4 separate regions of the Homo sapiens genome follow, and all the other regions are linked to region 1. Evidence: promoter capture Hi-C in 16 types of primary human blood cells and fetal thymus (Javierre and others, 2016). All regions are on one chromosome and are shown on one strand. Each heading gives the region's core, a stretch centred on a gene start or on the middle of the fragment in contact. The rest is flanking DNA. Distances are from core to core; before and after follow the strand shown.

What was found. The method cuts DNA at HindIII sites, captures the fragments that hold promoters and counts their contacts. A CHiCAGO score of 5 or more calls a contact.
Region 2: a contact is called between a fragment that was not itself captured here and the fragment with the promoter of HPRT1 in region 1, in 2 of 17 cell types (M2 macrophages and fetal thymus). The highest score is 5.8, in M2 macrophages.
Region 3: a fragment that was not itself captured here is called in contact with the fragment with the promoter of HPRT1 in region 1 in 1 of 17 cell types (endothelial precursors); the score reaches 5.8 in endothelial precursors.
Region 4: a fragment that was not itself captured here is called in contact with the fragment with the promoter of HPRT1 in region 1 in 1 of 17 cell types (non-activated CD4 T cells); the score reaches 5.8 in non-activated CD4 T cells.

Annotation. Positions count from the first base shown.
Region 1 is chrX:134,458,663-134,466,164 of GRCh38, forward strand. HPRT1 (hypoxanthine phosphoribosyltransferase 1) reads left to right here and starts at 1,503. Exons shown (of 9, transcript NM_000194.3): 1 at 1,503-1,676. The coding sequence starts at 1,650. RefSeq lists silencers at 1,375-1,494, 1,595-1,774. The HindIII fragment of the contact is 6,801 bases long and covers 1-4,609 here.
Region 2 is chrX:134,817,310-134,824,987 of GRCh38, forward strand. All of the region lies in intron 3 of PABIR3 (PABIR family member 3), which reads left to right. Among named protein-coding and RNA genes, the nearest start is that of PABIR3, 14 kb to the left of the region's middle. The HindIII fragment of the contact is 1,037 bases long and covers 3,647-4,683 here.
Region 3 is chrX:134,748,707-134,756,081 of GRCh38, forward strand. It overlaps a transcript of PLAC1 not described here. Among named protein-coding and RNA genes, the nearest start is that of PABIR2, 45 kb to the right of the region's middle. The HindIII fragment of the contact is 1,029 bases long and covers 4,501-5,529 here.
Region 4 is chrX:134,897,979-134,905,187 of GRCh38, forward strand. MOSPD1 (motile sperm domain containing 1) reads right to left here. Exons shown (of 6, transcript NM_019556.3): 2 at 1,302-1,556; 3 at 1,112-1,187. The coding sequence starts at 1,455. Among named protein-coding and RNA genes, the nearest start is that of MOSPD1, 14 kb to the right of the region's middle. The HindIII fragment of the contact is 9,641 bases long and covers 1-7,209 here.

The DNA.
Region 1 (7,502 bases), core at 253-2,752:
GTTATTATTCTCTCTCTCTCTCTTTTTCTTTTTTCTTGAGACAGGATATTTCTCTGTTGCCCAGGCTGGAGTGCAGTGGCACAGTCTTGGCTCACTGCAGCCTGGACCTCCTGGGCTCAAGCCATCCTCCCACCTCAGCCTCCCAAGTAGCTGGGGCTACAGGCACATGGCCACCAGGCCCAGATAATTTTTCATTTTTGTAGAGACTGAGTCTCACCATGTTACCCAGGTTTATTATTCTCATTTTTTAGATGAAGAGACTGAGGTCCAGAGAAGCTCAATGACTTGCCTAGTTTTACAAATCTCCTGCCATCACATACCCCTCAGCGTCCTTAATAAGAGGGAGGCCACCAACTATGTGCTGGGCACTGTGGTGGATGCTGGAGCTATAGGGTTGAGTATATAAGAAATGGTGTTGCTGGAGCAACTGTTGCTTGCTTACCTGACCTATCTGAGAATTAATTAGCAGGGGAACATATTTTTGTTTTCAGATTCAATATAAGAACTTGTGTGGGCAAAAATAAAGATCAGTAGTAATAACAGTAGTTCCCATTTGCTGACTGTACTGTCCTAAGTGCATATATATATACATACACACACGCATACCTATACTCCTCTAATACTCAAAATGATCCTGTTTATGTATTGTTAATATGCTCATTTTATTTTTAAATTTTTATTTATTTTTATTTTTATTTATTTTTGAGACGGAGTCTCATTCTGTCGCGGAGGCTGAAGTGCAGTGGTGCGATCTCAGCTCAGTGCGACCTCCGCCTCCCGGGTTCAAGTGATTCTCCTGCCTCAGCCTCCGGACTAGCTGGGATTACAGGCGCCCGCCTCCACGCCCAGCTAATTTTTGTATTTTTAGTAGAGATGGGGTTTCGCCATGTTGGCCAGGCTGGTCTCGTACTCCTGACCTTGAGTGATCCACCTGCCTCGGCCTCCCAAAGTGCTGGGATTACAGGCATGAGCCACCGCGCCGGGCTAATATGCTCATTTTAGTGAGGCAAAAATAGAGGCTCAGAGTCTGATTTGTACAAAACTACAGAGCAGTTAAGTGTCCTCTCAGATGTGTACCCTGATCTGGGTGACTCTAGGACTCTAGGTCTCAACTGTTACAACCAGTTAAGGGTTTGGGGAAGCACTGGGCCAAGAGTCAGGAAAATGGAAGCCACAGGTAGTGCAAGGTCTTGGGAATGGGACGTCTGGTCCAAGGATTCACGCGATGACTGGAACCCGAAGAGCCGGGGCCCGGTTTACGGCCGCCATGAAGCAACGCGCGCCGGTAGGTTTGGGAATCAGGGAGCCCTCTGAATAGGAGACTGAGTTGGGAGGGAAAGGGGCTTCGCTGGGGGAGCCTCGGCTTCTTCTGGGAGAAAATTCCCACGGCTACCTAGTGAGCCTGCAAACTGGTAGGCGCCGGCGTAGGCGCGCGGGCGGGGCCGGGGGCGGGGCCTGCGGGGCGTGGCGGGGCGGGCAGAGGGCGGGGCCTGCTTCTCCTCAGCTTCAGGCGGCTGCGACGAGCCCTCAGGCGAACCTCTCGGCTTTCCCGCGCGGCGCCGCCTCTTGCTGCGCCTCCGCCTCCTCCTCTGCTCCGCCACCGGCTTCCTCCTCCTGAGCAGTCAGCCCGCGCGCCGGCCGGCTCCGTTATGGCGACCCGCAGCCCTGGCGTCGTGGTGAGCAGCTCGGCCTGCCGGCCCTGGCCGGTTCAGGCCCACGCGGCAGGTGGCGGCCGGGCCCTGAGGCGCGGGATCCGCAGTGCGGGCTCGGGCGGCCGGGCCCAGGGAACCCCGCAGGCGGGGGCGGCCAGTTTCCCGGGTTCGGCTTTACGTCACGCGAGGGCGGCAGGGAGGACGGAATGGCGGGGTTTGGGGTGGGTCCCTCCTCGGGGGAGCCCTGGGAAAAGAGGACTGCGTGTGGGAAGAGAAGGTGGAAATGGCGTTTTGGTTGACATGTGCCGCCTGCGAGCGTGCTGCGGGGAGGGGCCGAGGGCAGATTCGGGAATGATGGCGCGGGGTGGGGGCGTGGGGGCTTTCTCGGGAGAGGCCCTTCCCTGGAAGTTTGGGGTGCGATGGTGAGGTTCTCGGGGCACCTCTGGAGGGGCCTCGGCACGGAAAGCGACCACCTGGGAGGGCGTGTGGGGACCAGGTTTTGCCTTTAGTTTTGCACACACTGTAGTTCATCTTTATGGAGATGCTCATGGCCTCATTGAAGCCCCACTACAGCTCTGGTAGCGGTAACCATGCGTATTTGACACACGAAGGAACTAGGGAAAAGGCATTAGGTCATTTCAAGCCGAAATTCACATGTGCTAGAATCCAGATTCCATGCTGACCGATGCCCCAGGATATAGAAAATGAGAATCTGGTCCTTACCTTCAAGAACATTCTTAACCGTAATCAGCCTCTGGTATCTTAGCTCCACCCTCACTGGTTTTTTCTTGTTTGTTGAACCGGCCAAGCTGCTGGCCTCCCTCCTCAACCGTTCTGATCATGCTTGCTAAAATAGTCAAAACCCCGGCCAGTTAAATATGCTTTAGCCTGCTTTATTATGATTATTTTTGTTGTTTTGGCAATGACCTGGTTACCTGTTGTTTCTCCCACTAAAACTTTTTAAGGGCAGGAATCACCGCCGTAACTCTAGCACTTAGCACAGTACTTGGCTTGTAAGAGGTCCTCGATGATGGTTTGTTGAATGAATACATTAAATAATTAACCACTTGAACCCTAAGAAAGAAGCGATTCTATTTCATATTAGGCATTGTAATGACTTAAGGTAAAGAGCAGTGCTATTAACGGAGTCTAACTGGGAATCCAGCTTGTTTGGGCTATTTACTAGTTGTGTGGCTGTGGGCAACTTACTTCACCTCTCTGGGCTTAAGTCATTTTATGTATATCTGAGGTGCTGGCTACCTCTTGGAGTTATTGAGAGGATTATAAGACAGTCTATGTGAATCAGCAACCCTTGCATGGCCCCTGGCGGGGAACAGTAATAATAGCCATCATCATGTTTACTTACATAGTCCTAATTAGTCTTCAAAACAGCCCTGTAGCAATGGTATGATTATTACCATTTTACAGATGAGGAACCTTTGAAGCCTCAGAGAGGCTAACAGACATACCCTAGGTCATACAGTTATTAAGAGAAGGAGCTCTGTCTCGAACCTAGCTCTCTCTCTCTCGAGTAATACCAGTTAAAAAATAGGCTACAAATAGGTACTCAAAAAAATGGTAGTGGCTGTTGTTTTTATTCAGTTGCTGAGGAAAAAATGTTGATTTTTCATCTCTAAACATCAACTTACTTAATTCTGCCAATTTCTTTTTTTTGAGACAGGGTCTCACTCTGTCACCTAGGATGGAGTGCAGTGGCACAATCACTGCTCACTGCAGCCTCGACTTCCCGGGCTCGGGTGATTCTCCCCAGGCTCAGGGGATTCTCCCACTTCAGCCTCCCAAGTAGCTGGGACTACAGGTGCGCACCACCATCCCTGGCTAATATTTGTACTTTATTTTATTTATTTATTTATTTATTTTTTGAGATGGAGTTTCGCTCTTGTTGCCCGGGCTGGAGTACAGTGGCATGATCTCGGCTCAGTGCAACCTCTGCCTCCCGGGTTCAAGCGATTCTCCTACCTCATCCCCCTGAGTAGCTGGGATTACAGGCGCCTGCCACCATGCCTGGCTAATTTTTTGTATTTTTAATAGAGACGAGGTTTCACCATGTTGGCCAGGCTACTCTCGAACTCCTGATCTCAGGTGATCCACCCGCCTTGGCCTCCCAAAGTGCTGGGATTACAGGCGTGAGCCACTGCGCCCGGCCTAATATTTGTATTTTTTGTAGAGATGGTGTTTTGCCATGTTGTCCAGGCTGGTCTTGAACTCCTGAGCTCAAGCGATCTGCCCGCCTCTGCTTCCCAAAGTGCTGGGATTACAGGCATGAGCCACCGTGCCTGGCCTAGGTAGACGCTTTTAGCTTTGGGGTGTGATGCCTGCCCCAGTATATAGTGAATTTAATTATTGCTAGAGCTGGCTGTTTGTTAGTTTTCTTTGAACATAAGATACTCATTGTTTTTAGTTTGCAAATCCCTCTTCCTTTTTAAAAAATTTCTTTCCCTTAAATTGTTTGCATGTTAGCAATAACAAATGCTTAAATGGTGCTATGTGCTAGATACTCTTCTAAGCCCTGTTATGTATATTAACTAATTTTTTAAATTACACAAATCAGAGAGGTTAAGTAACTTGCCCAAGATTACCCAACAATACTAGGATTTGAACCTAAGTTTGTCTCACCCCAGATTCTGCTCTTAATCTCTAAACTTTTAAGTTAGTAGTGACAATAGTAGGTATTTATTGAATACTTAACTATGTTTTAGGCGTTGAAGTAAATATTTTGCAGGCATTATCTAATGTAAACACCCTAAAGTTACATAACAGGTACCCTTTAGGTAAATAAACACTAGTATGACCTTGGAGGCACAGATAGTTGAAGTAACTTGCCCAATATCACTTACATGAAATTGGCCCTCAAATGTGTCTGATACAACCCATGCTGCTTGTAACTATCGTTTTAAACTGCCAGGGTAAACTTGGACACACTTGAGCTAAGAAAAAGCTTTTAGATTTTTGCAAATTAATGTGAAAGATATGCTTTATGTGGATATAATATCTTCTAAATTTCGGGGATGGTAGTCCTAGAAATGTAATCCTGCCCTAGCCGAGCTTACCCTGCCAATAATTTTTTACAGAATTGGTAAAACGGAGCACCTTTTTTTTGTCCTTGGCCACACTGTTATCAACAGGGTGTAGATTGACATCAATCTGTAGGTGTAAACCAGAATTACTCTTTGTGACCACCAGGAAATAGAGCAGTTCAGTTCAGGGGTTTCTTTCTGTGAATTTAGCACTGTGACCTGCATACTACAAGTCTACTTTGTTTTCTATCCATTGTTTGTATCTGGGTATTGCAAAAGGTAGGAAAAGGACCAACCAGATCAGCAGAGAAGAGTTGCCTTGGAGTTTTCTTTTAGTTTTCTGCAGTTCATTAGATAGTAACTAGGCCATGTCATTTTACTCCCTTGTAGTGAAGATATGTTGAAGTTGTACTGGTATACTCTTCTACCTTTCTGTAATTTTATATTGTGTAGACTTGATAAAATTTATGTGTCAATCACCACCATTAATATCAATATTGAGCCTCAATTCTTATTTTTCTGCCCAGTGGCTGCCAAATTACTAACATTTACAATAATTCACTACTACTAAGATAATCTACTAGTTCGATCACATACTTCAAATTGTTATGGAACTACTGTCTTCAGCATTGTGCTTCTGATAACTGATAAGTATAATTTTTTTTTTGTCCAGAGTGAACATGTCTATTCTTCCACTGTACACACTAATAAAAGGAAAAATTGTAATATTGGGTAAATTCATGTCCTTACACATGTAGTAGTTATGAGCCCATGTCCCTAGAATGAGTAATAATTTATCCCTCCCTTGGTTGAATAGTCAAGAATGCTGATTTTAATTCTTCTAACAGCTTTATCCCTCAGAAGGGAAGGCAAGCAAGTTATATATGTAGTTTATTTGTAAGACTGATATGAAATTGGAAGATGAATCTACTATTAGCTTTAATTATTTTTACATTTAGGAATATTGCATCAGTAACTCATAATTTTGGTTTTCTGTTATCCTGAGTTAACACAAATTATCCAAGGAGATGGCGGATCATCTGCTTTGAGGTGTTTTTTTTTGAGAATTTTAATGTATCTGAATATAAAAGGTAAAAATATGCCAACTAGCAATTTCTGCCCATTCCAGAAGTTTGGAAATATTACTCATTACTAGGAATTAAATAAAATATGGTTTATCTATTGTTATACCTCTTTTAATTCACATAGCTCATTTTTATCTTTTATTTTTGTTTGTTTTTTTTGAGATGGAGTCTTGCTCTGTCACCAGGCAGGAGTGCAGTGATGCAATCTCGGCTCACTCTAGCCACCGACTCCCTGGTTCAAGCGATTCTCCTGCCTGAGCCTTCTGAGTAGCTGGGATTACAGGCAGGCACCACCACGCCCAGCTAATTTTTGTAGAGACAGGATTTCACCGTGTTGGCCAGGATGGTCTCCATCTCCTGACCTCATGATCTGCCTGCTTCGGCCTCCCAAAGTGCTGGGATTACAGGTGGGAGCCACTACGCCTGGCCCACATAGCTCATTTTTAGACTCACTTCCATTAAGTCTTGTTTGGACCCACGAACATTGTCTTTTTTTTTTTAAGATGGAGTTTCACTTTTGTTGCCCAGACTGTAGTGCAATGGTGCAATCTCAGCTCACTGCAATCTCTGCCTCCTGGGTTCTAGCAATTCTCCTGCCTCAGCCTCCCGAGTAGCTGGAATTACAGGCGCCCGCCACCACGCCCAGCTAATTTTTGTGTTTTTAGTAGAGACGGGGTTTCACCATGTTGGGCAGGCCAGGGGTGATCCGCCCACCTCAGCCTCCCAAAGTGCTGGGATTACAGGTGTGAGCCACCGCATCTGGCCAACATGTCTTTTTTTTTTTTTTCCTTTTTAACCACAAAGAGACTTAAGCAGTCCTTGTCACAGATGATGAATTGATGTTGCAAGTATTGTCTTAGCTTGGATTAATTTTCTTGCTTACTGTAATTTTAGATAATATAGCTTTGTAATTAGAGATTTTATGTGTAAACCACAAAAATGTTTACATGAAGGCCATTATTACAGATGTGACGTGCATAATTATTAGTAATTTGTATGTTTACATGGGTCAGTCTGGCAAAAAATTATGAAGTTTTAAAAATTAAAAAAAATTATAATGCCAGTTTTACTGGAAAGTAAAATTATTTCAGTAATCGATTATAGCAAAAGTATTGATTTTCATTCCAGACAAAAGTCAGAATGAAAGGTAATTTCTCAATACTCTTTCAGATTAATAAAAGTACCTGTAGCGATTTTTATCATTCACAAGTATATCACAAGTAAGTTAGAATTTGAGAACTGTGTTCTAGATCTCTGAGGAGATGCAGTCAGATTTCTGAACTGTCTCAGCAAATGGTAAGTAACTTAGAGCTAGTAATTAATAACCTGTCCTTTGATTTCTGATTCAGCCAAGAATGGCCATATTTGGGAAAGGCAGATCTGGAGAGTAACCACGTTTTCATTCATTTACCACTTCTAGGCCCCTCCAGAGCTCTCAGATATTTTGGGGTTGAGCCCTTCCCCAAAGCCATACAGGACCTTTTTTTTGTGATCTGTTCTAGCCATTTTTATGTTGGGTGCTTGTTATGGACTGAGCATTTATGTCCTCCCACACCCCCCCCATACCTTTTTTGAAGTCCTAACCCCCAGTGTGATGGTATTTGGAGACAGGGCCTTTGGAAGGTAATTACAGTTAGAAGAAGTCGGGAGGGTTGGGCCCAGGTCTGATTGGATTAGTGCCCTTATATGAAAAGACACCAGGACGGGCGCAGTGGCTCACACCTGTA
Region 2 (7,678 bases), core at 2,915-5,414, 360 kb after region 1:
TTCATTAAATAAATATTTCTTCTTTCTACTCATTTACTCATCCATTCAACGATATTTGTTGAGCACCTGCTTGCCTCTCAAAGCCTTCCATACCTATCCAGTCTTCTACTCAACGAAGCCAACATAGTGGTTTAGGACCCACTATGTATTAGGCCCTGATCTAGTTGCCAGGGTTGATCTAACTGAGTTTGGGGAGGAGATAACATCTTAGTTGAGATCTTACTGATGTGAGAGGGTTAGCTAGTTTGGGATATTGGTGGCAGGGGTAGACAATATTCCTGGTAGAAAACAGCATGCTTGAAGTCCTGGAAAAGGAAGTGTGGTGTATAGATAAAAGAGTGTGTATAAAATTTGAAAGAAGTGCATTTTAGCTACAGTGAAAGCAAAGATACAGTGGTGAGAGATGTGGTTGAAGAAGTAGACTAGTGCAATATCTTGTAGGGCCTTCAAGTCATGTTAAGTATTTTGCACTTTATCCTAGGGTCAGTGAGAAGCCATTGAAGAGTTTTGAGCCAATGATTGACATGATCAGATTTGTTAAAAGATTGCCCTGGCTGCAGAGTGGAAAGTGGATTGGAAGAGGGCAAACGTATATGCAAGAAGATCAGATAGGCTACTGCAATCACCCTGGCAAAGAGCTGATGGTAGCTTGGACTAGTGTGATGGTAGTGGAAATAGAGAAAAGTTCCAGATTCAGGAGAAATTTCAAAGATGGAATCAATGGACGGTGGGAAACAGTGGAGGCAAACCTGACTCCTAGGTCTCTAGCTTGGGCAGCTGATGGGATGGTAGTGACACAGAATAAGAAGGGACCATTGCAAGAAGAGTAGATTTACAAAGGAGGATGAGTTTAGCTTTGTACATGTTACATTGGAGGTTCTCTTGGACCTGTAAACTAGTGATGTTCGATGTACTAGTTTGAAGCTCAGGAGTGAGAGCTGGACTAGAGATAACCATTTGGGAATCATTGGTAGATTGTTATTTAAAACTGTGGGAATTAATGATATGACCTACAAAGAGAGTATAGAAAGAGCAGAGAAGAAGTTGCAGGACAAAACTTTAAAAATCACCAACACTTAAAAATCAGTCAGAAGAAGAGTGATGGACTAAGTAGAGAGGCAGGAGGAGGCTTCAGAAGAGAGTAGTACCATGAAAAAACAAGGAAAAGTAGTAAGTCATATGCTGTCAAGCCGTCAAACAGACTGAAAAGTGTCCTTTGAATTACCAAAACAGATATTACTCATGAATTCTTATATTTGAAAGCACTTTCAGTAGAAGGAGGAGTGGGGTGAGATTAAGCCAGATTTGATTTTGAAGAATAACTGAGAGCCAAGGACCTATAAATGGCACTGTACATCCAGGCTCAGTTATTTGGGAGGCAAATCCCTCATCTGTAAAATGGGAATGTAAAAGTAACTGCTTTGTAGGTTTGTTGTGGATTACCTTGGTCAGTATGAAGCACTCAGCACAGCACTGGCACATACTAAATGCTCAATAAATATGTGGGTTTTTTTAAATCAGTAATAGTACATATAGTCAGCAACCGGTGCACCTGGCTTTTTAAAAATTATAATTTTAAAATCTTTTTTTCTAGTACCAAATACTTAAAGGATATTTTTTCTTTCTTTTTTTTTTTTTTTTTTTTTTTATTTGAGACAGATCTCTTGCCCAGGCTGGAGTGCAGTGACGTGATCTCGGCTCACTGCAACCTTCGCCTCCTGGGTTCAAGCGATTCTTCTGCCTCAGCCTCCTGAGTAGCTGGGACTACAGGCACGCGCCACCACACCTGGCTAATGTTCGTATTTTTAGTAGAGATGGGGTTTCACCATATTGGCCAGGCTGGTCTCAAACTCCTGACCTCGTGATCCGCCTGCCTCGGCCTCCCAAAGTACTGGGATTACAGGCATAAGCCACTGTGCCCGGCGATTCTTGGCATTTTAAAAATGCATAACATTCCTTAGGAATTCTAGGCTCCTAATTTGCATAACGTTCAGTTTAATATAATGTATATTTAAAATAAACCATCTTATATAACAGATTGTGTTTGGCAGAATTGAAGTCATTTTAACTTATTGGATGATGGGGATTTCAAGGCTTGTTGGTTTAGCTTGCTATAGCAATACTATGCATATGCTTTTATTGTGTCTAAGTATCACTTCATTATTATTATAAGACATAAGTAAGTATATACTTACCTTTAGTATAGAACTGCTGAATTTTCTAGGAGAATGACATGATGAATTAGAATGCTTTTGGCAAAAGCAGTAAAATCCAATTAGAAGAGACTTAAACAGCCTGGGCGAGGTGACTCAGGCCTGTAATCCCAGCACTTTGGGAGGCCAAGGTGGGCGGATCACCTGAGGTCGGGAGTTCAAGACCAACCTGGCCAACATGGTGAAACCATGTCTCTCCTAAAAATACAAAAATTAGCCGGGCATGGTGGCATGCGCCTGTAATCCCAGCTACTCAGGAGGCTGAGACAGGAAAATCGCTTGAACCCGGGAAGTGAAGTTTGCAGTGAGCCGAGATCACGCCACTGCACTCCAACCTGGGTGACAGAGTAAGACTCTGTCTCAAAAACAAAAACAAAAGCAAACAAACAAACAAAAAACAGAGAGACTTAAACAATAAGGAGCAATAAGGAGCATTATTATCTCAAATAATAAGAAGCCCCAAGAAAAGGAGGTTCTAGGCCGGGTTAGTTCAGTGGGCCAATGACATCATCAGAGACCCAGGTTCCTTCTATCTTTCCACCCTACCATCTTCAGCAGCCACAGTTAATTATGTAACTAGTAATTAGACCCAGGGTTCAAAATCAATGGATAGCAAGCTCTTATATATATTTAAAGATGTCGAGAAGGATATCTATCAACCTATCTTTAGTAGATATCTCTGGAGCATGACATTATAGGCAGAATTTTATTTTTACTTTATGCATTTCTATACTAGTTGGATGTTTTTCACAAAGCATGAGCAATACAGGTGTTTTCATTTCTAGTAGATATTATATTACAAAATAGAAACATTATTCTTGAAAAAATACAAATATTATTGAATGATATCATAAACTATAAGTTTAATGGTTATGTCCTATACTGGTCTATCCTTAAAATTGGTGCCACAGGCATCTAAAGTAGCCAAATTCATAGACACAGAAGGTAGAATGGTGGTTGCTAGGGGCTGGGAGGAGGAGGGAATGGGGAGTTGTTGTTTAAAGGGTACAGTTTTGCAAGGGTACAATTTTAAAGGGTTTCAGTTTTGCACGATGAAAAGAGTTTTGGAGATTGGCTGCACAACAGTGGGAATGTACCTAACACTGCTGAACTGTATACTTCAAAATGGTTAAGATGGTAAGTTTCACGTTAGTGTATTTTACCACAATTTTAAAAATTGGTGCTGCTTTTCATGTATTTAAATATGGGTAAAACAGGCTGGGCACAGTAGCTCACGCCTGTAATCCCAGCACTTTCAGAGGCCGAGGCAGGCGGATTACTTGAGTTCAGGAGTTTGAGATTAGCCTGGTCAACATAGTGAAACCCCGTCTCTACTAAAAATACGAAAAATTAGCCAGGTCTGGTGGCACGCGCCTGTAATCCCAGTTACTTGGGAGGCTGAGGCAGGAGAATCTCTTGAACCCGGGGAGTGAAGCTTGCAGTGAGCTGAGATCCCGCCACTGCACTCCAGCCTGGGCGACAGAGACAGACTCCATATGAAAAAAATATATATATACACATATATATGTATATATATATATTTTATATTATATGTGTGTGTGTGTGTATATATATATATATATGGGTGTGTGTGTGTATACATACGTATATAGGTAAAACCGTGTTTTAGAAACAAATCACTGTGACAGAGGGCATTGAAGAGCCATGGGTTTTTGTGTTGAATGAACACAAAAATAAAGATGCGTATTTTCCAAGCATTGTAAAAAAAAAAAAAAAAAAAAAAACTGTTCCCTCACAATTATTTTGTTTAATTAAGTGCAAATATTTTCTTCACTTCTCTCAGGAAATTACTTCACCCACTTCTGTTGAACAGAAGCCCAAAGACCTCTTCTGACCTTGAGACTATGCCTTCTCCCAAATCGCCCCTTTGCTTTATCTCCTAAGAACTCTGAAGTTGCCATGCCTGTTCCTTTCTCTCCCACCAGGAATTCTGGCACTTCTGCTCAAGCCGGATGTCACTGCGTCACTTCTCCATCCCCACCCCCTCCTCTTCCAAAGGAAGCAGGGGAAATGTCTCATCTTCCTAAGAGAAAAGGTTGTGCTTTTCTTGAGCAATTCATCTGTTCTAATTTTAGGCCTACTGACATCTGTCTCATTAGGTTTTGCTTTTCCTATTGGCAACCACAAACCCCAAATCTAGTGTATGGCCCACAAAGTTGCAAGCATGTAATACATTCCTGATCCTGCTTTATGCCCTGCACATCTAGCCCATGTTCAGTTCATGTTAAGTAGCATTATAAACCATCTTAAATCATTTCTGAAACTAGGCAGAGACATTTATAAACACAGTGTACAACCCTTTGTTTAGGATTTTCTGAGCATTTTATCTCTAGTTACTATAGTAGGAAATGGCTTAAAAACAGCAAACCTAGGAAAATGAAAAATAATTTTTAAAAATCTTAATGTCTTTACAATATGAATTTTCTGTGATCTCTCTTAAATGGAACTAAGCTTGGTTTTTCCTCCTATCTTAATCCTTTCACTGGAGATAATTCTTAGTAATTAGCTTCACCCAGCACCCTCCCTAACCTCCCGCTACTTCTACTCCCAGCCACCTTCACACCATGACATCATTCCTTGGTGCTGATACTCTTGGTTCCTTCCAAGGACTTTTCTTTCTTCCTGGAGTGTGAGAAAAAGGCACAGTGGGAAATTTACACAAAAGATACCAGTGATGTTTATTACATCTCAGTGAAGTCATTATTTCTATTTTAATACTTTGTTTCATGTGGAAAAATTATCTAAGGTAATTCCTTTGCAAACGCCACTTGTAGTACTTAATTTGGGGAGAATTCTCTTCCAGAAGCCTTGTTTTCTGCAATTAATTTCTCACATTATTACTAAAAGAATCAGCCAATACAAGATTTGATCCACATTTTGTCCAATTAAAAAATTCTTGTAGCTTATGATTCTGTAGCTCAAGTTCAAATCCTACCTACCTCAGACATTTCACACTATCTCCCTGCTGGTGTCATCAATTTCAGTCTATCTTCTCATGATTTCCTGGATGAAGTTTTTCAGTGGGAAATCCTAAGCCTTTGCCTGAACCTAAATTGGTTCCTTCCCATCCCTTAGGTATAAATTAAAAATAATCTCTTCTAGGGAAGTCTTTCATCATTATTTTATGAAGGAAATTTGCCATACCATGTTTTCTCACTTATAAGTCGGAGCTAAATGATAAGAACTTATGAACACAAGGAAACAACAGACACTAGGGTCTACTTGAGCGGGGAGGATGTGAGGAGGGAAGCAGAAAAGATAACTATTAGGTACTGGGCTTACTACCTGGGTGATGAAATAGTATGTACAACAGGCCAGGCGCGGTGGCTCACACCTGTAATCCCAGCACTTTGGAAGGCCAAGGTGGGCAGATCACCTGAGGTCAGGAGTTTGAGATCAGCCTGGTCAACATGGTGAAACCCCATCTCTACTAAAAATACAAAAAAATTAGCTGGGCATGATGGTACGTGCCTGTAGTCCCAACTACTCAGGAGGCTGAGACAGGAGAATTGCTTGAACCTGGGAGATGGAGGTTGCACTGAGCTGAGATTGCACCACTGCACTCCAGCCTGGGTGACAGAGCGAGACTCCGTCTCAAAAAAAAAAAGAAAAAATATGTATAACAAATCCTGGTGACACATGTTTACCTATGTAACAAACCTTCACATGTACCCCCAAACCTAAAATAAAAGTTAAATAAATAAAAAATTAAAAAATAGAAAGTAATTGTCTTATTTATGACATGTCATTATAATACAGCCAAAGTGTCATAATTTCTATAGAAAGTATATGTATACATTTAAGTTCAGGTTATATATCTTTTTCATTAGATTATAAACTTTATAAACCATAGTGTTTCATGTTATATATTGTGAATTTTCTGGGCATTTGATTGATGCAGATGTGAACCTTAGTAGCATGAATTAAACGTATTAAAATTCTGCCTCTTCAAAGGTGTGTGTGTGTATCTGTATATATGTGTATATATATGTATATTTGTATACGTGTATTCTATGTACATATATACATATATACATACACGTATACATATATATGCATATACATGCAAAATGTATACATGTACACATATATATCCATGTGTATATGAGAGTTTTTCAGGAAAACCTAAATTTTTCAGATTCTGTTCATGCCACTGCACAACTTCTCAATTAGTGTTATTAAAGGGAAACACTGAGGAAGAATCTCCAACACTGTATAAATCACAATGTTTTCTGCTTGCTTTGAAAGTTTGATTATTTTTATAGTATGCCTTAAGAATGGGCACGTAAATATTTTTTAAATTAGCAATATTTGGGGTTCAAAGTAAAAAAGAAAAAAAAGTCACAGTATCTAATGTTGAGAGGGTATGAGGAAATAGGTATTCTAATACACTACTGGGAAGTAAATTTGTATAAGTTTTCTGGAGGGCAGCTTGGTGATATGTATCAACAACCTTGCAACCCAGAAACTCCAGCTCTATGAATTGATCCTAAAGAATTAATTAAGGATGTGCACAAACATTAGCTTAAAAGATATTATTACAACATTATTTATAAGAGCTAGCAAAAAATATGGCAACAGCCTGAATGTCTAACAATAGGGAATAGGTCAATCGAAAGAGCCTTCGTTACGTGTATTTGAATTCCAGTTCTAGCAATGACTGCATAACCCCTTGGACAAGTTGCTTAATCACTGTAGCCCTCAGTTTTTCTGAGGCAAAATGAAGGTGATAATAATGCCTACCTCATGGGGTTGCTGTGAGAATTGAGTGAGATAAAACGTGTGGCACATAATAAAAGTGCTGCTTATTATTATGGTACGTCCTTACAGTATAATATTCAGCACTTAAAATGGTGTTGCAGATGAATTTTAACATGGAAAGACTCAGAATGTATTAAATTATATATATTGAGTATATATGCTTTATAATGAGAAAAAATGTGAGCCTATTTCTGTTAAAAACAAAAAGATCAGGGCCAGGCCCGGTGGCTCATGCCTGTAATCCCAGCACTTTGGGAGGCCAAGGCGGGTGGATCACTTGAAGCCAGGAGTTCGAGACCAGTCTGGCCAACATGGAGAAACCCTGTCTCTACTAAAAATATAAAAATTAGCCGGGCGTGGTGGCGCACGCCTGTAATCCCAGCTACTCGGGAGGCTGAGGCAGGAGAAATGCTTTAACCCAGGAGGTGGAGGTTGCATTGAGCCAAAATTGGGCCACTGGCCACTGCACTTTAGCCTGGGTGACAGACTGAGATTCCTTCTCAAAAAAAGAAAAAAGAAAAAAAATAAAAGATCAGGACAAACAGGCAGAGCATAGGGGAATTTTAGGACAGTGAAACTATTCTGTACCATACTATAATGATGGATGCATGTCATACAAAACCCTTAGCATGTCCAACACCAGGAGTGAACCTAAATGTAAACTATGAACTTTGGGTGGTAAT
Region 3 (7,375 bases), core at 3,765-6,264, 290 kb after region 1:
TATCAGGGTTTAAATGGGGGGAACGTCTTGATATTTTACAGCAGATGGATGAAATGACTGGCAAGACAATTACCTAGGTCTGATATTGGCAGGTTGAGGCTCTAACATCTGTTTTATTTCTCTTTAAATCCCTAGCTGGAACTATAGAGACTGGAGAAGTCGTATTGTCCCTTACTGGCCACTGGAACATATTGAACAAGACACATTTTGCTTACTTTAAATTTTAATGTTAGAAGAAGAGTTCTAATCAGGGTTACTCACTGTCATGGGTTTTTGACACGAATCAGCCTTTTCTAAGAGTGTTAGGCTGCAATGAAAACAAGAATCAGGCTGGGCATGGTGGCTCACACCTGTAATCCCAGTGCTTTGGGAGGCCAAGGCAGGAGGCTCACTTGAGCCCAGGAGTTCGAGACCAGCCTAGGCAACATGATGAAACCCTGTCTCTACAAAAAATACAACAATTAGGCGGGCTTGGTGGTGCCTGCCTGTAGTCCTAGCTACTTGGGAGGCTGAAGCATGAGGATTGTTGAGCATGGAAGATAGAGGTTGCAGTGAGCCAAGATCGTGCCACTGCACTCCAGCCTGGGCAACAGTGTGAGACTCTGACTCAAAACAAAACAAAACAAACAAACAACAACAACAAACAGGCACGGTGACGTTTGCCTGTAGTCCCAGCTACTCGGGAGGCTAAAGTGGGAGGATCCCTTGAACCTGGGAGGTTGAGGCTGCAGTGAGACATGTTCAGGCCACCGTACTCCAACCTGGGTGACAGAAGAAAACAAGAACCAAATGCCTACACAGAAATATCCACAGGACTGACGAGGTAGCCAAAGAGTGCACTTGTTTCTGAAGTCAAAAATTTGAGCTTGTTGAGATATTTCTATCAAAAAATCAAGATTTTAAATTGCTGCCTAATACCTGGATTTTAAAGAAAACTCTGTTCAGTTCATAATTAATTCTTTTCGTGTTATTAACATATAGAAAAATACTAGCTGATCAGTTTCCATTTCTATCTGCTCATTCCTTTAATTTTTCTCCTTTCCCACAAATAGAAGCTGTATTGCAATAAGCATATCTTGCCCCTGGCCTCCATTCCAAGAACATCTGGAAAGAGTGTTAGTTAAATAGCAATGGGCTTACACAGTGCTATAATTTTTCTAGCTATAAGGAAGCCCCCACCATCTCCACTCCTATCACCAGAGAGGCGTGGGTGAGCTACCCGAAAGCTCTTTTGCTTGGAGAACAAGCAATGGAATCTTGCAGATAACCCTAACCAAACACCACCCAGGCAGAAGGGCCCTAACCTGCCTAGTGAGATTCCTCTAAATACATTTTATACTATCAAGGCTTAAATTCATCAGAAAAAAAAACCAATGGAATTTATCAGAAGATGTTTAAGAGAGAGTAACAGAGCTGCTGGGATATACTCAAACATAACTTTCTAAGCCTAAATTGCATAATATCCTTTTTCCAGATCCTTTTAGTTTGTTTCTTATTCCAGAAAGAACCTTATATGGAATTGCACGCATTTGGCTCAGTACAAATTTGGCCCATGTTGAGCCTCTTAGACTTGGCCCACCACAAACTCATGCTGTCAACCACAGTTTGGTTCCCATCACTGCCCAGTTGTTCCTGATATACCGTATGCTGTGAATATCCCAATCTTTCTCCTCGGGTCCCCAAATCTTCTTCCTCTCAACTCTCCCATTTTTAGTAGATGAGCTTGACAATTCGGTTGCTGAAAACATTTACGCTATGGGTCTGAACTCCCCTAGCTATTGGAGATGTGAGAGCATCTCTCATCAGATGAAGATTTTTCCTAAATACTAAGTTACTGCCTCCTACTCTGCTCTAGAATTCATCTCTTCCCATTTTCTTACTCCCACATTTATTTTCTCCTTATAGACCTCTGCTGTCCTAGATAGTAACCTCTTGCCACGTGTAGCTATTTAAATGTAAATGAATTATGACCGGACGCAGTGGCTCAAGCCTGTAATCCCAGCACTTTGGGAGGCCGAGGCAGGTGGATCACCTGAGGTCAGCAGTTCAAGACCAGCCTGGTTAACATGGTGAAACCCTGTCTCTAATAAAAATACAAAAAAAAAAATATATATATATATATATATATTTATATATATATTTATATATATATATTTTTATATATATATATTTATAAATATATATATATATATTTATATATATATTTATATATATATATTTTTATATATATATATTTATAAATATATATATATATATTTATATATATATATAGCCTGGTGTGGGGGCGCCACCTGTAGTCCCAGCTACTCAGGAGGTTGAGGCAGGAGAATCGCTTGAACCCAGGAGGCAGAGGTTACAGTGAGCCAAGATCATGCCACCGCACTGCAGCCTGGGCAACACAGCAAGGCTCTGTCAAAAAAAAAAAAAAAGGAAAAGAAAAATGTAAATGAATTATAATGAAATAAAGCTAAAAATGAAGTTTCTTGATTGTGCTAGCCACATTTCAAGTACTCAACAGCCACGTGGTGCTGGCGGCTCCTGAATGGGACGGTGCAAATGTATGTAATTCCCATCATCGTGGAAAGTTCTAGTGGACAGCACTGCTCACCAGGGACCTCTGATTTATTTCCTATCCCATTGGCTCTTCAATCTCATGCAGACAACTGCATCACCATCAACAACAACAACAACATCAACAACTGCTCTACAAGTGACCCTCCTACCCTTCCAGCTACCAGTCTCTAGAATGCTGCCAAACTTTTAGAATGAATGCTGCATTCCTTTCTTGCTCCTCTGCAATCTGACTTCCGACCTTCTCGACAGAAATAAAGCCACTAAAGACTTTTGGGGCATCTTCTACCATTTTGTTTTCATTCATCACCCTCCTAAAAATGTCTCCTCTCTATCCTGTTCCTCCCATCTCTTGTCTCTGGCACACTACCAATGCTGAAGAAGTGTTGGTTAAATAAGACAATAAGCTTCCCTCCTTGATCATTCACTCCTCCAGGATCTTTCATCCTACATCTCCCTTCTGTTGCAAAAGCCCGGTCCTCTGCTCTTCTTTTGTCAACCCTTCTCTCATTAGCTCATCTTCTCTCACTTGCCTTTAACTATCTGCTCTGTATAAAAATGGGTCTCAGTTTCACAACTCAAGCTGTCAATTTCTCACTTCCATGACTAGCATTACTGGAGAACACCAAGAATAAATGTTTGTATTATTAATGGCTGCTCCCAGTGATGCAAGGAAACCTGCTTTCCAACCCAGTTAATTCCTATGTCCCTTGCAAAACTGTCAGGGCCAACTCTGTAGAAGTTATCAGTGCTTTCCTGTGAGGCTACATTGTGAGGAGATTTCTGGGCTTGTGAAGAGTTAGGGACTCAAGGGGGCAGAAACAAAGGCTGCAAGATGAAAGACATGGGATGGCTCTGGCTAAAGGAACTTTGTCCATATAACAATTCTGCTACAGTCTTTTCTCAGGACTAGTTTCAAAGTCTCAGGATGATATAGAAGTTCGTTTTTCTTTTCATTTCTTCTTTGTTTGTTTTTTTTTAGAGAGGGAAGTGGGTTAGTAACCTCCACATTGCCTCTTCATTGAGAACTACATAATAGCTATAGATTAAAATGAAAAACCCGTCACTTTCAGAAGGGCAATATCATGCAATAAGCCTGCAGCAAATTATACCTTGGTGTTACATGAAGGAAGTTGACAGGACAACACTTTCTTCCCCTTCTCAAAATGAATGTAGAAAGTACACTCTAACCTTTACCAGCATATGATGTCTATAACTAACATGAAGGAAAGTCAAAACTTTTTTTTCTCCCCTTGGCTTTTTTTTTCTTTCAACAGACACATTGCTCTGCTGATAAGAAAGCTAAGAAAGTGGGTAGGTAGAAATATACAGCTCATTCAATTAAATGAAAATTAATGTAATGCAGACAACACAGTGCAGGCTGCTTGATTTTGTTACATTTAACTTAAAGACTACCAGGCCCTGACAAACATCCTTGAAATGTAAATTCAACATTCAAAACCCACAAGTCACACTAAGAGCACTGGGAAACAGGAGAAATACACACTGGACAGATGCAGGCAGTCCCAAAGCTCGGTGATCTTTTACAGCTAGAAGGTCAAGGCAGTTATTTCACAGTGATTTGTATGAAAAGAAAAATAAATTGAAAAGAGGGCATTCATGTATATATGAGATAATTGACATAGCAAAAATAACTCCCAAAGTGAGCATTTACTAGGCAATTTAGGTTAAAATGGTATAAAAGGCAGATTGTTTGGGCCAGCACATCCGCCTTTCTTGCACTTAAAGATAATTTGTAGATGAAGAAACTGCTCTCTTTAAAAAAAGAAAGAAAAAGAAAATCCTCCTCCACAAAGCCTCCTTTCCCACAGCCTTCTACCAAACAGATTATGTTGCTAGGTAAACATAAGCTACCAACAATTTCTGTACCAATATATATAGCAAATTATACTTCAGAGGAAGCCTGCAAGCTTATGAAACAGATGGCAGATTTGTGTCGTGGCCCGAGAAACAATTGTGTTTTGGTAAAATGAGCCACTGCAAGTCTCCCTGACATTTTCCTAGCCTAATCGACATTGACTTTTCATGTCACGAAGTTGCATGAAAGAGCGGGATCATGTAGAAAAGCAGATAAGCATCAGAAGCAATGGCAAAGATGATGCCCTTTTAGAGCTGGAATCATCAGTTTTAAACTTTGAGTTTAAATATACGATAACAGCAAAAAGTAAACCAACACAGCTCCTAATGTATCGCTCAGACCTGCCATCTGGGCTGGAGTCAAATTTAATAAGCCCAACGACATCAACTCTACTTCTCCAGCACTATAACTAATCTTAGGCTGTTTAAACAATCAGGGGCGGGAACGAGATGGTATAATCTTCTGTGAACTGGATGTAACTGGAGAATATATCCATGCTTATTTAGATTTTATAAAAAGAAATTTCGGAGACTTGAGGTCCTTACAGCTCACATTTCTCATCCAAACTAAACTGTTATTTGTTTAATAAGCAACTGGTTCACAACTGGACTTCAACTGTCCCACCACATCCTGGAACAAAGTGTTGAATCACACTCAGATCCACACTGACATCTGCAGGTAATTGAAACAGGACTTCTGTGAATTGATTTCTCGACTCGGGAGTCTCAAACCATTCTCCAGAGTAGTGTGCTAAACCATAAAACTTAAATACCCCGGATGACACAAAATATTTCTTTAAAAAATACTATCAATGTTTAAGTGCTTCCATAGACTAAAATATTGCATATAGCATCTGAGTTCCATCACATAGAAAACCCCACAAACACACAGCTGTCTCTGCCTGGCGTAATTATGGTGATTTTTATTTTCACTTTAAACTTTTTTCTATTTTTCATTACTTTTCATATATTATCCAATGAGCATATGGTACTTTTACAATACGTTATGGCAAGGTTGCTACCTAAATTTTAACCTCAAACTTTCTGTTGTCCCTATCAATTTATATTCACATTAATCAAAGCTTCAACAAAATCCAGCAGAATATTGTTTTATTGTAATAACTGCTGCTATGCAGCACACTTATTTATATAGGCTATCAAAACTCCTAAACATTCACAAGATAGGGAGTAGATTCAAGCTGCTTTAGGCTAATACATGAGATTTTTCTATAGTGCCTTTCCACTGAGCAAAATTTTAAAGTAACATTTATTGGATCGATCTATAATTATAGTATTAGAAAAAAATGGAATCTGCTACCAAGAGACTCCTTTTACAATGACTGTCTAGGGGGAAGCCTATTTTTCTGGGCTTGTAAAAATCAAGTAACTCGCTCAACTTCTGAGGTAAAAGTCAACATAGATGGAAGGCTTTATTCTATGTGTTGAAAATTAGATGTAATAGAAAAATCCATCAAGGATTTCTAGTGGTAGGAGAAAAAGGGGCAATTTCTTAAGGGCTCATTAACAAATTTAATCAACAGGCACTCATAAACAAGCTGTCTTCCAATTTACAAATGTGCTACATTTCGAACATTTATTGTTCTTTTTTTTTTTTTTTTTTTTTGGTGCCTACAATGCATTTTCTTGAAGAGACAAGATTACGCTGGTTAGAGTTCCAATTTGATTCACAAAAGTAAAGCTAAAATACTGTAGGTTTGCAATGAAACGGTAGGAAGCAGTTTTAGCAATAAGATAAATGTTGGAATGACTTTAACAATAAATTATTTTTCAGTTTTCTTATTTTGGTGCATAAGAAAATAATTATAGAAACATAAGAAAGCAGGCCATTTTAAAGCACTTCAGATGCTAACATCCAATTTATCATGTAAATTTGCAACTTTTCTTATTTTTGATCTAGGCACACATTTTATGAGCATAGGCCATGCTGAAGGTTTTACTTTAGCTAGCATGTGGAAATTAGATGGAAATTAGGGAGAAAAAATAGGAGAGAGAGTTTGCCATGGAAAGTGGGCAAGAACTGAAAGAGAAGCGGGGAGAGAGAACTACAGAAAACATAGATTTAGATTCAATTCCTTGCCTCCACGTTACTCATTCATTCATCCAACTATTAAGTGGTAGCTCTTATTGGTGAGTATAAGTACTCTGTAGTTTGTTTGTTCATTGATTTGACAAATGTTAATTGAGCATTTACTTTGTGCGTGGAGCTGGGGATACCAGTGTGAATAAGATAGTCTTGGTCACTATTCTTATACATTTGGTAACTAGTATGGAAGACAGACATTAAACAATCACTGTAATTACAAGTCAGATAAGTGCCATAAAAGGTGAAGCCCAGGGATATCAAGGAGTGCCTAAATGGGAGAACTTAACCTAACCTGGCATTGCTCCTCCTCTCCAAATGATCCAGATGGTCAAGTTGACTGTGTATTTTAAATATATTTGCATCTCTTACTATGTGTGAAGTTGAGTATCTTTTCATATATTTAAGGATCATTTGTATACTTTCTTCTGTGAACTGTGTATTCATGTTTTTGCCCATTTTCCTCCTGAGACTTTTTAGCCTTTTTTCTTTAGATTTAAAAAGTTCTTTATATGTTTGGGATATTGGACCTTTATTTATGTATACATTATAAGTATTTTCTCAGTTTCATCATCTTTCTTTTCTTTTTCCTTTTCTTTCTTTTTTTTTTTTTTTTTTTTTTTTGAGATGGATTCTTGCTCTGTCACCAGGCTGGAGTGCTCTTGGCTCACTGCAACCTCTGGCTCCCGGGTTCAAGTGATTCTTCTATCTCAGCCTCCCAAGTAGCTGGGACTACAGGTGCCCACCACCACGCCCGGCTAATTTTTTGTATTTTTAGTAGAGACGGGGTTTCACCGTGTTAGCCAGGATGGTCTCTATCTCCTG
Region 4 (7,209 bases), core at 1,982-4,481, 440 kb after region 1:
CTGCCTCAGCCTCCCAAGTAGCTGGGATTACAGGCACCTGTCACCACGCCCAGCTATTTTTTTTTTTAATTTTTATTTTTAGTAGAGACGGGGTTTCACCATGTTGGCCAGGCTGGTCTTGAACTCCTGACCTCAGGTGATCCTCCCACCTCAGCCTCCCAAAGTGCTGGGATTACAGGCGTGAGCCACTGCACCCAGCCAAACACTGTAATTCTTATGGGTTTTCTGCAATTCCATTTATTTTATTTTGTTCGTACTAGGGAACACAAAACAATTAGGTCAAAGTAACACATTTATTTGGCAAGAGACTACATTTCTTTGTAATAGCTCTTGCTTACTGTGTACTGAATGAAAATTTTTAAAAATGTGCAAAAACGTTCTCAAAGATACATCATTTTATGGCTTTGAGCTGGTGAAAAAGTATTCAAAAGAAAAGAATTCTGCTTCTCATTCTCACAGAAGATTTAAACAAATACAGTGTACTTGGTAGCTTAAATTAAGGGCTGGTCAATGGATCCATCTGGTCACCACTAGTTCTAAAATAAAAATTAAATATGAACAGCTTGAACAATCATTTATCTGACACTCTAAGATGAAATTATCTGGAAGAGCTCAAATAATATTTTACAGATGAGTGGTTGCACAACTGCTTCCTGTTTATATAGATTAACTTCCAGGCTTTTAGTTGAATCACTTCAGATGAACTTATATTACCCTTGTTCTTAGACTGTAGTATTACATTTTTCCAAATGTCACTATAATAGCAGTATGTTCCAAGGAAAGCTAAATCCCCTATTATAGCTGGAGAAATTTAAAGGAATAAGTCAGAACTTTACCTTTATAAGCATCCCTGGTATGACTAAAACCACAACAATGAGAAAATGTTCATGGAGATACTAACATATACATGAGCTCCAACGTAATAAAATATTATTAAGTATTTGGCCGAATCTCTTAGAAACAATTTCGATAGACAAACTTTCGGCAAAAATTCAAAATATAATAAATGCCTATGTGAGAACAGCTTCAAGAAAATATCTTTTTTTTTCAAGTTAAAAACATAAATATTAACACACTTAAAACGTGTTACCAGGAATTGATCTTGACTTACATATCCACACAACACTGAGGCTTTACTGCACCTGCAGCATCAACGACAACATACTTATTTGGAGTAGTACACAAAACTGAAAGAAAAAGTCACAATGGCCATTAGTGTTTTTTTTTTTTAATTAGTTTCTACAAGTAAAAAATTAGTAGGGACCAGTTAAAAACCCAGAAAATAGAGCTAGGAGACTCACCTTTGAACTTTAAGGCAAACTCATAGGGATTGTACAGTGTCAACACTTGCTTATGTGTTGACTGATCATCTGCATAAAATATGAGCTCCGTGGGGAACACGAAAACAGGAAGATTTCCTTCCACTAACTCTGGTTGTCTTTTTTGTTGATGCATTGGCACTGAATCCCCCTTGCTGCAGTTTCTGTTTTTACAGTCTCAAATCTATTTTGGACTTTTCTTAGATTCAGTTAAAAACTCCAAAGCATTTTGGCAATCTAGAAATAGAAGGAGAAAGCGAGAAGAAAAGTGAATGATCCCAATTTTCATTAATCTATAGCCCCTACACAAAAAGTATATTTAGCATGCATTAAAACAGGCCCCTGAATCGGCCAGGTGCAGTAGCTCATGCCTGTAATCCCAGCACTTTGGGAGGTCGAGGCAGGCATATCACTTGAGGTCAGGAGTTCCAGACCAGCCTGGCTAATGTGGTGAAATGCTGTCTCTACTAAAAATACAAAATACAAAAATGCAAAATCAAAAATACAAAAATTAGCTGGGTGTGGTGACATGCCTGTAGTCTCAGCTACTCAGGAGGCCGAGGCAGGATAATCGCTTGAACCTGGGAGGTAAAGGATGCAGTGACCCGAGATCACACTGCTGCACTCCAGCCTGGGCTACAGAGGGAGACTCCGACTCAAAAAAAGTCCCCAAATCACTTAAACATGGCTTTTGACTTTTTCCCTTGACTTACTTGTATAGCTTTTACCAAATTATGCAAAGAAGTTTATACATGCTCCTTTCACATTGAGGATTTTAACCTATGATTAATAATCTAAATACTCAAAGGAATAAAGAAGTCTTTCTCAAATTAATGACCCCCTTTCAAAGAGGTGAGATCAAAGGGATATCGCTCTTTTTAAACCTCAGATTTTTTAAAAAGTAGAATAAATTAAGTATCGTCACAACTGATTTTGCATGAGTCCAGCAGAATTCTTAAAGACTAAAAAATAAACACAAAGTAAGTTTCCATGATTTCTGGAGAAAACCATGAGAATCATTTTTACACTCATGTCAACAATACTTTATTTAGTGCCTTCTTGGCAGCATGGGTGGGAGAGTTCTTTTAATCTTTTTTCTACTGAAACCAGAAACAAGCTAAAATGTCTTGAAAGGAGGCCGAATGACCACACATGCTAAGCAGTCCTTGGAATTTTTTTATGAAAATGTGAAGTCAGTAAGTAGGGCTTTGGCATGTGAGTGGCACTGTGCCTCTCCCTCCTACATCAAGTACACATGCTTTGTGAGAGCTATTCTCCAACTTCAGAGGCTTTTTTGGATTCCCTCTGGGTTCCTGAATATGTTCCAGATAGCTATAACTGACAGAAGTCTGAATGCCTGATAAGCGTGATGTTTCTGTATTTATTTCCTAATCTCATTATAATCAATATTCTTATTTACCAAGCACACCAAGTGTGCCTTTTTTTTTTTTTAAGAGACAGGGTCTCCCTATGTTGCCCTGGTTGGATTTGAACTCCTGGCCTCAAGCAATCCTCCTGCCTCAGCCTCTGGAGTAGCTGGGACTGCAGGCGTGCCCCCACAATTGAAACATAGCTTTTAAAAATAAAATGCAAAAGCTAAAATGTACAATCAGAGAAAATATCTGATTTTTACCCTGTGGATCACACCTTTAAAATAGACTATAAGCCATTTAACAGTTTCAAGTTCGGGTTCTCATACATTCAAAGAGAAATAAAACGAATGAATGATTTGGTTTTACCAGCTATTGAGGCTCGTATGCTCTGATTCTGATAGAGGCCTTTCCAACTTCTATCAAATAGGAGCTATATAGTCATGTATGCAAATATTTATTCTTTTCTTTCAGCTGGACATCTATTATATGCCAAGAACTATGTCAGAAGCTGAGCAGAGATACAAAGATGAATAATGCATAGGCTCTACCCTCAAGAAGTTCAAGTCTAATTGACAAGCAAAAATATTGAAGCTACCTCTATTATAATAGATACTTATAAGGATACCATGGTATATATGGTGCTAGAGAATCAGAAGACTACATGAATAATTCTACCTGTAAGAAAGGCCAGGAGTTGGCCGGGCGCGGTGGCTCACACCTGTAATCCCAGCACTTTGCGAGGCCGAAGCGGGCGGATCACTTGAGGTCAGGAGTTTGAGACTAGCCTGGCCAACATGGTGAAGCCCCCGTCTCTACTAAAAATACAAAAATTAGCCAGGCATAGTGGCGGGTGCCTGTAATCCCAGCTACTTGTGAGGCTGAGGCAGGAGAACCACTTGAACCCGGGAGCAGAGGCTGCAGTGAGCCAAGATCACACCACTGCACTCCAGCCTAGGTGATAGAGCAAGACTCTATCTCAAAAAAAAGAAAGGCCAGGAGTTGATATTTGAGGTGGTCTTGGAAGAAAAGAAGGGTACACACTTAAGTGTTGAGGGGAGAGCATTCAGACCAAGGGAACAACAAAGGCACAGAAACATGAAGGTAAAAAGGAAGGCACTTAATGCATAGGCTGCTTCAGATAATCATTCTACTTTATTTCCATACTTTATAGCATGAATGTAATTAACAACAGTGTCGGATGTGTTTTTGTTTTTTTGACTGAGCTGAAAGCGCCTATCAACATTTTCTTAGTAAAGATATCTAATATTTGTATAATTCATAACAGATTATAAACTTTTTAATAATTATATAGACTGAATGAATTAATATACTGTATGTAAAGCTCTTGAATAACACTTACTAAAGGCCAGGCAATGTTCTAAGTGTTTGTTGTTATTATTATTATTTAATTATGAAGAGACCAGACTGAGACAAAAACAAAAACAAGGTTGAAGCCTGGCGCCATGGTGGCTCACGCCTGTAATCCCAGCACTTTGGGAGGCCGAGGCGGACAGATCACCTGATGTCAGGAGTTCGAGACCAGCCTGACCAACATGCAGAAACCCCATCTCTACTAAAAATACAAAATTAGCCACGTGTGGTGGTGGGCGCCTGTAGTCCCAGCTACTCGGGAGGCTAAGGCAGGAGAATTGCTTGAACCCGGGAGGCGGAGGTTGCAGTGAGCCGAGATCGCTGGGCAACAAGAGCGAAATTCCGTCTCATAAATAAATAAATAAATAAATAAATAAATAAATAAAACAAAAAACCAAAGTTGACAGGCCTCCTGCCTCCTAGTCCAGTATTTTTTCCACTGTCTGTCCACTTCAATAAATAAAACTAAGGCTAGATGCGGTGGCTCATGCCTGTAATCCAAGCACTTTGGGAATCCAAGGTGGGAGGATTTATTGAGCCCAGGAGTTCAAAATCATCCTGGGCAATATGGCAAAATCCTGTCTCTACAAAGAATACAAAAATTAGCTGGGGGTAGTGGAACATGCCTGTAGTCCCAGCTACTCAGGGGGCTGAGGTGGGAGGATCATCTGAGTCCAGGGACATTGAGGCTACAGTGAGCCATGACCACGCCACTGCACTCCAGCCTGGGTAACAAACTGAGATTTTGTCTCAAAAAAAGAAGATAAAATAAAACAGAACTAAGATTACCAAGTTCCTGGGTTTATACAAAAAAAAAAAAAACCAAAAAAAAACCAAACTAAGATTATTCTAAAAGGCTTCCGATTAAATAATTCTAATTTTGCATTTTTATTTCTTCTACTCAAAAGCATACACATTTCTATTGGGATAATGTGCTCTCAGAAGTTTGATGTGTTCTCTTTTTTTTTTTTTCAATAAAAAATGGTAAGCTGTATAATTACTATCTTAGGAAGCATTAGGAAGAGAACATCCAAATTTGGCATCACAAAATTATATGCACCATCTCATTCTAAAACTCTGTCGAGATGAGAATTTAATTTAGGATAAAAGGTGGTATCTCTGATTTGTGGAGGATAGATTAATCAATAAATGCTGGCTAAATCAGGTATCTATCTAGAAAAAAAATAATTTATCTTTCACTCCTTAATCAGGGAAAATTCTAAACAGATAAAAGTTTTTTTTAAAAAGTAAAATTAAAAAATAATAATAAAGCCATAAATACTCTAGAAGAAACAATGAGAAAAACAAACAAAAAAACCTCAGGCTTTCTAACAGTGATGTAAAAACAGAAACCAAATTGTTTTTTTTTTCACTTAGAAATTGTCCCTGGCTGGGCACAGTGGCTCACGCCTGTAATCCTAGTGCTTTGGGAGGCCGAGGTGGGCGGATCACCTGAGGTCAGGAGTTCGAGACCAGCCTGACCAACATGGTGAAACGCCGTCTCTATTAAACATACTAAAATTAGCCAGGCGTGGTGGCGTGTGCCTGTAGTCCCAGCTACTTGGGAGGCTGAGGCAGGAAAATCACTGGAACCCGGCAGGTGGAGCTTGCAGTGAGCCAAGATCGTACCACTGCACTCCACCCTGGGTGACAGAGTGAGACTCCATCTCAAAAAAAAAAAAAAAAAAGAAAGAAAGAAAAAGAAACTGTTCCTGAAGGCCAGGCTCGGTGGCTCACGCCTGTAATCCCAACACTTTGGGAGGCCAAGGCAGGCAGATCACGAGGTCAGGAGTTTGAGACCAGCCTGGCCAACATGGTGAAACCCGTCTCTACTAAAAATACAGACATTAGCCAGGCATAGTGGCGTGCGCCTGTAATCCCAGCTACTCGGGAGGCTGAAACAGAGAATTGCTTGAACCTAGGAGGTGGAGGTTGCAGTGAGCCGAGACTGTGCCACTGCACTCCAGCCTGGGCAACAGAGCACGAATCTGTCTTGGGAAAAAAACAAACAAACAAATGAAAAACTGTTTCTGAAGACAGAAACAAACAAAAAATGATAAATTCATCTGTATAACTTTTTAAACTCTGCATGGCAAAAAAACTTTACTTCATAGAAAAGGGACATAGAAATTGTCCTTGAACTTACAAAAGGATGTTTAACCTCACTCACAGCAAAGGAAACCCAAACTAAAGCCATACTATGACACAATTTTTTACCTGTCCCATTAGTAAAACTCAAATTTTGATAGCATATGATGGGAACGATCAAGCATGTGCTTACATTGCTTGTGGGGAGGTGAATTGGCATAACAACTACATGTGCCAAAATTAAATGCACATAGCCTCAGTTCCAGAGATCGTACGTCTAGGGATTTATCTGGCATATATATTCCCCTTTTTGTGTGAAGTCATGTAGGTGAAAGGTTTCTCTGCAGTGCTGAGGGTTAAATAAAATGATTTATGTGAAACAACATGGAACAGAACTTGGCACCCAGTAAGAGCTAGTTTTTTGTTGTTAATAGCAAAAGACTGGAAACAAGCCAGGGGAGGTGGCTCACACCTGTAATCTTAGCGCTTTGGGAGGCCAAGGTGGGCGGATCACCTGAGGTCAGGAGTTTCAGACCAGCCTGACCAACACGGTGAAACCCCGTCTCTACTAAACATACTAAAATTAGCCGGGCGTGGTGGTACACACCTGTAATCCCAGCTACTAGGGAGGCTGAGGCAGGAGAATCACTTGAACCCGGGAGGCGGAGGTTGCAGTGAGCCGAGATCATGCCACTGCACTCCAACCTGGGAGACAGAGTGAGACTCCATCTGAAAAAAAAAAAAAGAAGATTGGAAACAGCCCAACTGTCCATTAAAAGAGGATTCATTAAATAAAGTACAGTCTATCCATTCATTGGGATACCAGATATCAAGAGGAGACTGTGTAGTTGGAGATGGACTGATCTTCAAGTGGTAGTGTTAAGTGAGAAACGCAAGGAGCGGTGCAGTGTGTAATGCATGCTGCCATTTGTATAAAAAGGGAGATAAGGCCGGGCGCGGTGGCTCACGCCTGTAATCCCAGCACTTTGGGAGGTCGATGCGGGCAGATCATGAGGGCAGAAGATCGAGACCATCCTGGCTAACACAGTGAAACCCTG